Linked DNA regions of Homo sapiens: all the other regions are linked to region 3. Evidence: promoter capture Hi-C in 16 types of primary human blood cells and fetal thymus (Javierre and others, 2016). All regions are on one chromosome and are shown on one strand. The core of a region is centred on a gene start or on the middle of the fragment in contact, and the rest is flanking DNA. Distances in the headings are between cores, read along the strand shown.

The links. Contacts are between HindIII fragments. The CHiCAGO score rates a contact against its expected background, and 5 or more counts as called.
Region 1: a contact is called between a fragment that was not itself captured here and the fragment with the promoter of PLXNA2 in region 3, in 1 of 17 cell types (endothelial precursors). The highest score is 5.2, in endothelial precursors.
Region 2: a contact is called between a fragment that was not itself captured here and the fragment with the promoter of PLXNA2 in region 3, in 1 of 17 cell types (endothelial precursors). The highest score is 6.4, in endothelial precursors.

The regions. Positions count from the first base shown.
Region 1 is chr1:209,188,705-209,191,404 of GRCh38, reverse strand. No RefSeq gene overlaps it. Among named protein-coding and RNA genes, the nearest start is that of LINC01696, 140 kb to the left of the region's middle. RefSeq lists an enhancer at 701-810. The HindIII fragment of the contact is 1,184 bases long and covers 688-1,871 here.
Region 2 is chr1:209,211,506-209,214,205 of GRCh38, reverse strand. LOC105372896 (a long non-coding RNA gene) reads left to right here. Exons shown (of 5, transcript XR_922530.4): 5 at 2,320-2,700. Among named protein-coding and RNA genes, the nearest start is that of LINC01696, 110 kb to the left of the region's middle. The HindIII fragment of the contact is 1,347 bases long and covers 699-2,045 here.
Region 3 is chr1:208,243,103-208,245,802 of GRCh38, reverse strand. It overlaps PLXNA2 (plexin A2), which reads left to right and starts at 1,419. Exons shown (of 32, transcript NM_025179.4): 1 at 1,419-2,160. RefSeq lists a silencer at 1,302-1,361 and enhancers at 1,880-2,379, 2,380-2,700. The HindIII fragment of the contact is 7,265 bases long and covers 398-2,700 here.

The DNA.
Region 1 (2,700 bases), core at 30-2,529, 950 kb before region 3:
ATTATAGCCCACTGTCCTCCAGGAACTTGAAATCTTTTTCATTCAGCTAGCATATGAGGAAAAAAAAAAGGAGGATGAAGTGTGGGAGTTTTTAAGAGCCTAAACAAATTCATTGTTTCTTTATATATGGCTTTTTACACATGGATTAGAATTCAATTACTGGTCATAGCTAACTGCAAGGCTGGCTGGGATGTACAGTCTAGACATAGGCTTAGGGGGAAAAAACAGGGCTGTGAGCCTCAACATGGCTCTGCCATAGTTGTTGTTAGTGTCTGTTTAGCCTCTGCACCCTGGAGACCTATCTGTCCAGAATAGTTTCTAGAATTGCTATTGTATGTGTGCTGTTGAACTTCACTGGAAAATGAATGAAGAGGAATGCAAGAATTTTAAGTGACCCGAATTCCTGGGTATACACACGGATACACAGGATACCCAGGGCTCCCCTCTGCCATGACCCCTGAGGGCGCTCTCTATGAACCAAGGAGTCCAGAAAGGAAAATCGCTGGAGGTTAGGCTTTGAATAACTCTAAGCCTTGTTCCCTTTCCCACAAAGAACTGCACAAGACCGTTGATGACACTAGAGGGCGCAGCAGGCGCCGTGCAGGAGACCACCCCCTACAAGAGTGGTGACAGCAGCAGTTAGCAGTGTTGTGAGTGGCGCCAAAGACCGTAGGTTCCTGGCAAGCTTGCCATTCCTGGCGAGACCAGCCTCCCTGAAAAGAGGGATTAAAAGCCTTCTTAAAAGAAGACTTGAAGACCCATAAACTTGGGCTGGCGTCCTTACTCAACCTCACCCATATAGAGTGAAAAATGTGGCCAAAGAAATTGGGCCTCACAGTAAGGGGTTGCCTTAATTGAGTAGATTTCTAATAGCATTTTACGGGCAGAATCTATTTCGGCTTCTTGGCTACCTTGCTAAACTATGGAGACACATTCTTTCCTGTTTGTTAGTTTTCCATCCCAGCATACATAAGAGGCTGTACATATTTGAATACCAGCTGATACTCTCTGAAATTAATTAGATGTGATTCATAGGCTAGTTTTCCTCTCCTCAAGTCAACTTTCTCACCCGTGGACTTACTACCTATTTTGTCCTACCATTTGGTGGGTAGATGTATTACGATGTCCTATCTTCTGGGCTAAAGACGGGGTGGTGCTTATTTTTGTTTATTTTTTATTTGCAACTTTATTTTTTTATTGTGGCAAGATAGACATATCTGTCATTGTAACCACTTGTAAGTGTACAGTTCACTGGCATTAAATACATGCTGTGTAACCATCAGTACTCTCTATGCAGATGAGTGATTCTTGCACAATTCTTAAAACATGGAGCTAGCAAGTTAGTTACAGTGAAGTCATTTCCATGTTTACTATGGAGCTGTGCACCAGTTGCCAGTTATGGTAAATGTCACCGTGACCTGTGCTATGGAGACCCTATGGAAAACCTGCTTCCCCAGGACCAGAGAATCTTAGCATCTGGTCTCTACTATTCCACTACCCCGCTGAGCAATTTCAACCATTAGCAAACCGAGTGAGAATAATATACTCACTTTTGATTACTGATATATAACCTGTGGATGATCTTATATTTTAATTTCTTGGATAAATTCTAGTTATTATCAAGAATATTCTAGGCTATGAAAACTTTACCCAACTTTCCCTGCAACCCAATCAGCATTCTCTCATTGGGGCTATAAATGAGTGAAATAGACCCAGAAGGAAAACGTTCTGCCAAATAAGATATAATACTGCATTCCTTCACTTACTTGGATGTGTATTGATAAGGGTTTCTCAGGGAAGTTCCTTTCTGGTGAAACTTGGGCCTTGAAATTACTTTTTCCAATTTCCAAATTCTACTCTAAGTTAAAGCTTGTGGATTTTAACTTATAACAACAGCAACGACAATAACACTAGACAGCATTTAATGAGTTTTTACTGTATGCCAAGCACTATTCTAATCTCATTTAATCATCATAGTAACATTAAGAAGCAGATGCTATTATCTATCTATCTATCTATCTATCTATCTATCTATCATCTATCATCTATCTATCTATCTATATTTTTGAGACAGAGTCTTGCTCTGCCATCCAGGCTGGAATGCAGTGGCGCGATCTTGACTCACTGCAACCTCCACCTCCCAGGTTCAAGTGATTCTCATGCCTCAGCCTTCCAAGTAGCAGGGATTACAGGCAGCTGCCACCATGCCTGGCTAATTTTTTTAAGTAGAGATGGGTTTCACCATGTTGGCTAGGCTGGTCTCAAACTCCTGACCTCAAGTGAGCCGCCCATCTCAGCTTCCCAAAGTGCTGGGATTACAGGCATGAGCTGCCACACCTGGCCTCTTTTCAGTATTTTTAAGTGAAAAAACCAAGGCACAAAGTGATTCATTCAACTGTAAGAAAGAGTTGTATTTGAATTTAGGTGCAAATGTTATATTAGATTTGGAAAGATGTGACTGGTTTTAGGGATGTAATTTGAAAGAAGCAGTGCATTCTTGGCATGAGGTCCAGCACTTGAATATCTAGCCACACCTCCTAAGGGCCATGCTTACTTCCAAGTGGCCGCTTCTCTCTGGGGGATCCTAGCACACTTGTCCATGCTAAAACCAGCAACAGGATTGATGACCTTTCTGACCAAAATGGGACTCGGTACTTTTTCATAAAACACATGCTGCTAGGACAATGTCTGTTCATCTGT
Region 2 (2,700 bases), core at 123-2,622, 970 kb before region 3:
AGAAAATATTTGCAAACTATTCATCCAACAAGGAACTAATATTGAGAATTCATAAGGAACTCAAACAACTCAATCAACAGTGAAAAAAAGATCCTATTAAAAAGTGGGCAAAGAACATAAATAGACAACAGGTACGTGAAGAAAATCCTCAACATCACTATGCAACAGGGAAATTCAAATCAAAACCACAATGTGATATCATCCTACCCCAAATAGAATGGCTATCATTAAAAAGACAGAAAAATACCAGATGCTGGCGAGGATGTGGAAAAAAGAGAACTCTTATACATTTTTGTTGTTAATATGAATTAGTTCAATCACTGCGGAAAACAGTATGGAGACACCTCAAAAAACTAAAAATAAAACTACCATATGATTCAGTAATCCCATTAGTGGAGAGCCATCCAAAGGAAAAGAAATCAATATATCAAAGGGATATATGTACTTACATGTTTATTGCAGCACTATTCACAATAGCAAGGACATGGAATCAATCTAAGTGTCCATTGGTGGACAAATGGATAATAAAAATGTAGCATATATACATAATAAAATGCTATTCACCCATAAAAAGAATGGAATCATGTTATTTGCAGCAACATGGATAGAACTAGAGGTCACTTTGTTAAGTAAAAAAAACCCAGGCACAAAAACACAAATTGTACATGTTCTCACTCATATGTAGGACCTAAAAAGCTTGATCACATGGAGATGGAGAATAGAATGGTAGATACAAGCGGCTGAGAAGGTTGTGAAGATAGGATGAAGAAACAAAGAAGGTTGGTGATTGAGTGCAAACTTACAGTGAGATAGAAGAAAAAAAATTTCAATATTAAACAGTCGATTAGGGTGACTGTAGTTAGCAACAACCTATTATGTATTTCAAAGTAGCTAGAACACAATCATTACACATTCTATGCATGTAAAAAACACATATACCCCATAAATACATAAAATATTATATATTAATAAAAGGAAAAACCATATTAAAAGATAGAAAAGTAAAAAGGAGATGAAAAGAGAAAGTAAAATAGCCCCTGGCTTTGGAGAACTTTTACAGTAGCAGGGGTGACATTTGAGTAGCCACGTGAGAGATCCATACAAGTAAACCAATGGAAGACAGTGTTGCAGGCAAGCAGGAATGAGCCCCACACAGGCATAGTCAGAGGGCTTCTTATAAGAAGTGGAACTGAACTGCACAGCATGGATATTCGTTGAGAGCCTCTTCAGATCAATGAAAGCATGGATAGAATTAAGATGGTTGAAGAAAGAGGGAATGAGGGCAAATGTTGGGATGCCTGGATAGAGAGTCTTCTGCCTAAGGTCAGAATCATCCTGGGCCCTGATGGACAGTGATGAGGGATCTGGAGTCCTAGATTAGAGGGGTCAGCTACAAAGCAGTTAGAGAGGAAACTCAAGGGGGCTGAGTATAAAATTTCTTGAATTCCAGGTGGGGTAATTTAGACTTGACATGTTAGATAAGGGTGAAATGTGCCTGATTATACAATAATTATTTATTACATGCTTACTTGGTGCCAGGACTGTTCTGTCTATTGGGATGAAAATGATTAAGAATGTCAGTGAGCCAGAAGGGAGGGTGTACCTCAGAGTGAGGGGAGTTTTAACTAAATGGCAGGCTGGGGAACATCGACGGATATTTCTGAGGGTGAGGATCTGGATCTACCTGGTGACTACAGGAATATAGAGGAAGAAGAAAAAATAAGAGATTATTTTTCTTCCAAAGAATGAATCAGCAGGTCTTAGTGGTAGACTGCTAAACTTGTTAAAGACCAGGAAGGAGGAATCATGTGAAATGTGTCCTTCTCTTTCTCATTTCCCTGAGCTGAGTAGCAATAACAGCAACAACAACAACAACAAACAGCTAAAAGGTAGAGGTTCCAAGCCACTAAACCTGTTATTTTATGCTATGATAACTCCCTCTACAGCAGTATCACCACACTGCATGACCCTGGGAAGCAGAGAGAAGAACTTGCAGATGTTCACTTAGTGGTACCCACTGGAACCTGAGAAACCATTTAGAAGCTTATCATCCCCTGCCCTCATGAAAGCATGTGCTGCTGCAGCCCTGCTTTTGTTTTCTAGAACAAACAGAGGAAGAGGATGGACAAGAATCCAAGATTAAGTTGTTCTTCATTCATTCAATCAATGTTTATTAAGGGTCACCTTTGTGCAAAACATCAGCAACTGTATGTACCTAAGAGCTAATGATCAAAGTTTCTAGGTGCTGCAAGATTCTGAAGACATTTGCAAATGCCTTGTGCTATAGCCATATTTGTAACCGTAGTGCTTGATCCATAGGAACATTTGATCTGGGCTTGATAAATGGACACACAGATGAAGGAAGAAACAAATGAAGTATGGCACCTATGAAGGCTGGAGGACTCAGGGACAACTCCTGGATGAGATGAGCTGTGATGAGGACACAAAGGGTAAGCAAGAGTTAGATGGACAGGATTAAAATTCTACAGGTGCATTAGAGCCACAGAAACAGAGAGGTCAGGATACATTTAGCCTCTGTAGGGGATAGGCAAAGTTGTCTAATGAATCGTTGCCTGAATTCCTTATATATACTCATATTCAGCAAACGTGGTCTATGTCTTATCTGGTCTTCCTTACAAGCCCCCATATCCCCTGAGTGATGACAAAGAGACTAAAGTTTAATCTACCATGATATAAAAC
Region 3 (2,700 bases), core at 170-2,669:
GCAACACAGCTTAGACAGATTCTTTGTGGTCCCACAGGACAAAACTAGCAGTAGCCAGTGAAAGTTACAGGAACACAAATTTCAGCTAATTACAATGAAGAACTTTTGAAGAATTCGCTGATTTCTGCAGATGTTGGAGTAAAGCCTAGATCCCCCAGTCCTGTGTTGAATGTGCGATTGTTCGAGATGACTGGTTAGTCTAGATTTCCTTTTCTTCTTCCTCTCTCTCTCTCTTTTCTCCGGCTCCCTTTCTTCATCCTTCCCTCCCTTCGTTTCTTCTGCCGCTACTGCTCTAAGAATTTGGTGCAATTGCTTTTAGGTATTCGCAGTGATTTTTGTTGTTTTTTAGATTTATACCACTGAGGACTGTGGCCACGAGAGGGCAGTAGAGGAAGCTTATCAGAATACTTGGACAGGAGTAAACTCGTGTGCGCTCTAATCGCGAGCAGGGACTACGCAGATCCTGCGAACTCGCTGGGGTCCAGCTTGCAGGCCGCTTCCGGAAAGCCGTGTCTAGAGGCTGCGGAGTTACTGAGACTGTGTGGCGAGGAATCAGTGGCCTTGAGGGCACCGAGACATTGTCATCCAGAATCCCGAAACCTCTCACCTTAGGTTATTAAAATAAGTTATCTTATTGCCACCCCTCTGATTACCCTGCCAGAAAGATTCTCTGAATTGGATATAGAAAGCTCTTCTCCCGTCCCCAATGCCCCCATGCAAGTCGGGACTTACCAGATGCCCAGGATCCCTATCAGGGCTGGAAGTTTGAGATTCAATTCAGAGCAAGGTTCATCTTCTCATTGCAATAATAATAATAACAACAACTTCAAGCCTTATTTGACAGCTTGTTGGCCTTTTTCTTTTTTTAATTTACAAGAAGAGGAAATTTGCTCCCACAAATTCCAAGACTCTAGTCTCAACCCTACCAGACAAGCCCCGTTCCTCCCCACTCACCCCTCACTCAAATTACAGATGAAGAGGGAGGTGTGCAGGATGTGTGCGGTGACAGGTGATGCGAATGGGGGGGATTCCCTGTCCCTACTGCCCTCACCCACTCTTCCTGTGTTCTGAGCTCCCCCCTAACCCCAACGCTAGACCTTCTATTCCCCCGGGGGCCAAGCCAGCTGGGCTCGCAAGGCCCGACTCGAATTCCCGGGCCCTGGCAGCATTTTCCTTGCCCCCTTGGCTACTTAAGGTGGCCGATGGGTCCGGGCTGAGCTGGGCGCAGGACAGGCAGCCGAGCGGCCTCCGGATGCCAAACCTGCTTCTCCTTTGTTGACAGCTTGCGGAGGAGGAAGTCCGCGCGGGCGGGGGAGGGGGCAGGGTGCTGGCGGTGGCGGGCGGTGCCAGCAGCGGGCGCGGCCCCAGCCCGGGCGGACGCGGCCGGCGGGGAGGGGGTTAACGCGCGCGGCCTCTATGATAATGAGCTGCATGGTGAAATAGGGAGGCCGGCGCTCAGGGCTCCTCCGCCGCCGCCGCCGCCGCCGCCGCCGCCGCCACCGCGGGAGCCAGAGCTGCCGGGAGGAGCGGCATCCGCGCCAGACTGGAGCGGGAGGGCGGCGGAGGGCAGTTGCTGGGAATTTTTCAGCCGAGAGGGCGAGCGATCCGGAGAGAGACCCCGAGAGCTTGGGAGCGGTAGGGCGTGCGAGCGCCGCAGCCAGCGGAGCAAACCTCGAAATAGATCTGGAAAGCCAGGCTCCCGGAGGAAATGGGACTGTGAACGAACCGGAGAGCAAGAAGGGAAGGAAGCGCCGGGATTGCTGATGTCAGAGGAGCCCGGAAAGTCGCGCTGGAAAAATCTGAAGACAGCCGGGGCTCTGCTTCTTCCTCAGGAGAGACACCGCCGGCCGCCCCCACACGCCCCCTCGGCGCCTCCGGGTGCCCCCTGAGAGCCGGCGACAGCGCCCAGCCGGGCTGCTGCGGGGCGACGGAGGACTGAGGGGCGCGCGGAGCGGAGACCGAGGAGCGACTTCAGGAATACAGATAAGTGTCTGGTGGCTTGACGTGGATTTTAATGAATTTGGACTCCATGTGGATTTGGTCGTCTCCCTGATTCCGAGCTGCGGGCAGGGAGAGGGGCCTCGCGCCGCCCTCAGCAGCCGGCGGCGGCCGAGGTAGACCGAGCGGGGACGGAAGGACAGACCGACGTCGCCGAGCTGGGTAAGCGGCGGCTGGGCCGGGCGCTCGGAGTCGGCAGCGCCCTCCGCCCTCTCCCCACAGGCGCGCACACCCGTGGCGGCTTCTCCCGCGCCCGCCTCTTTGGGGTCCCGGCCCCAGAAGACCCGGCTTGGCCGCGGCGGGCGAGTCCCCGCGTGGGCTCGGCCACTTTCGCGGGCTGGAGCGCGGCGTGCGCGCGATCGCAGGCTCACTGGAGCCGCTGCCTCCCGCCGAGGGCTTCCCGGCCGGCAGCCCGCCGGCTTCCCGAATGCGGGCTGAGGGCGGCAGCAGCGCTCCGCGGCGCGCCTCCACCGCGCACCTGCCGGCGCTCTGCGGCTTTGGGGAGCTCGGGGCGGCAAGGCTGTCCTGAGAGCTGGAGCCCAAAGAGGGCCTCGGTGGCACCAGCGAGACAGCCCAAAGCCACACTGGCCAGCGATCGATTTGGGGGCGTTCACTCCAGTGCCGGGGTCCCTGGTGGCCGCCGGCTCTCCCTTCCGATCGGGGACTGGAGATCAGGGGAATGGGAAAACATCATTTGCGCGG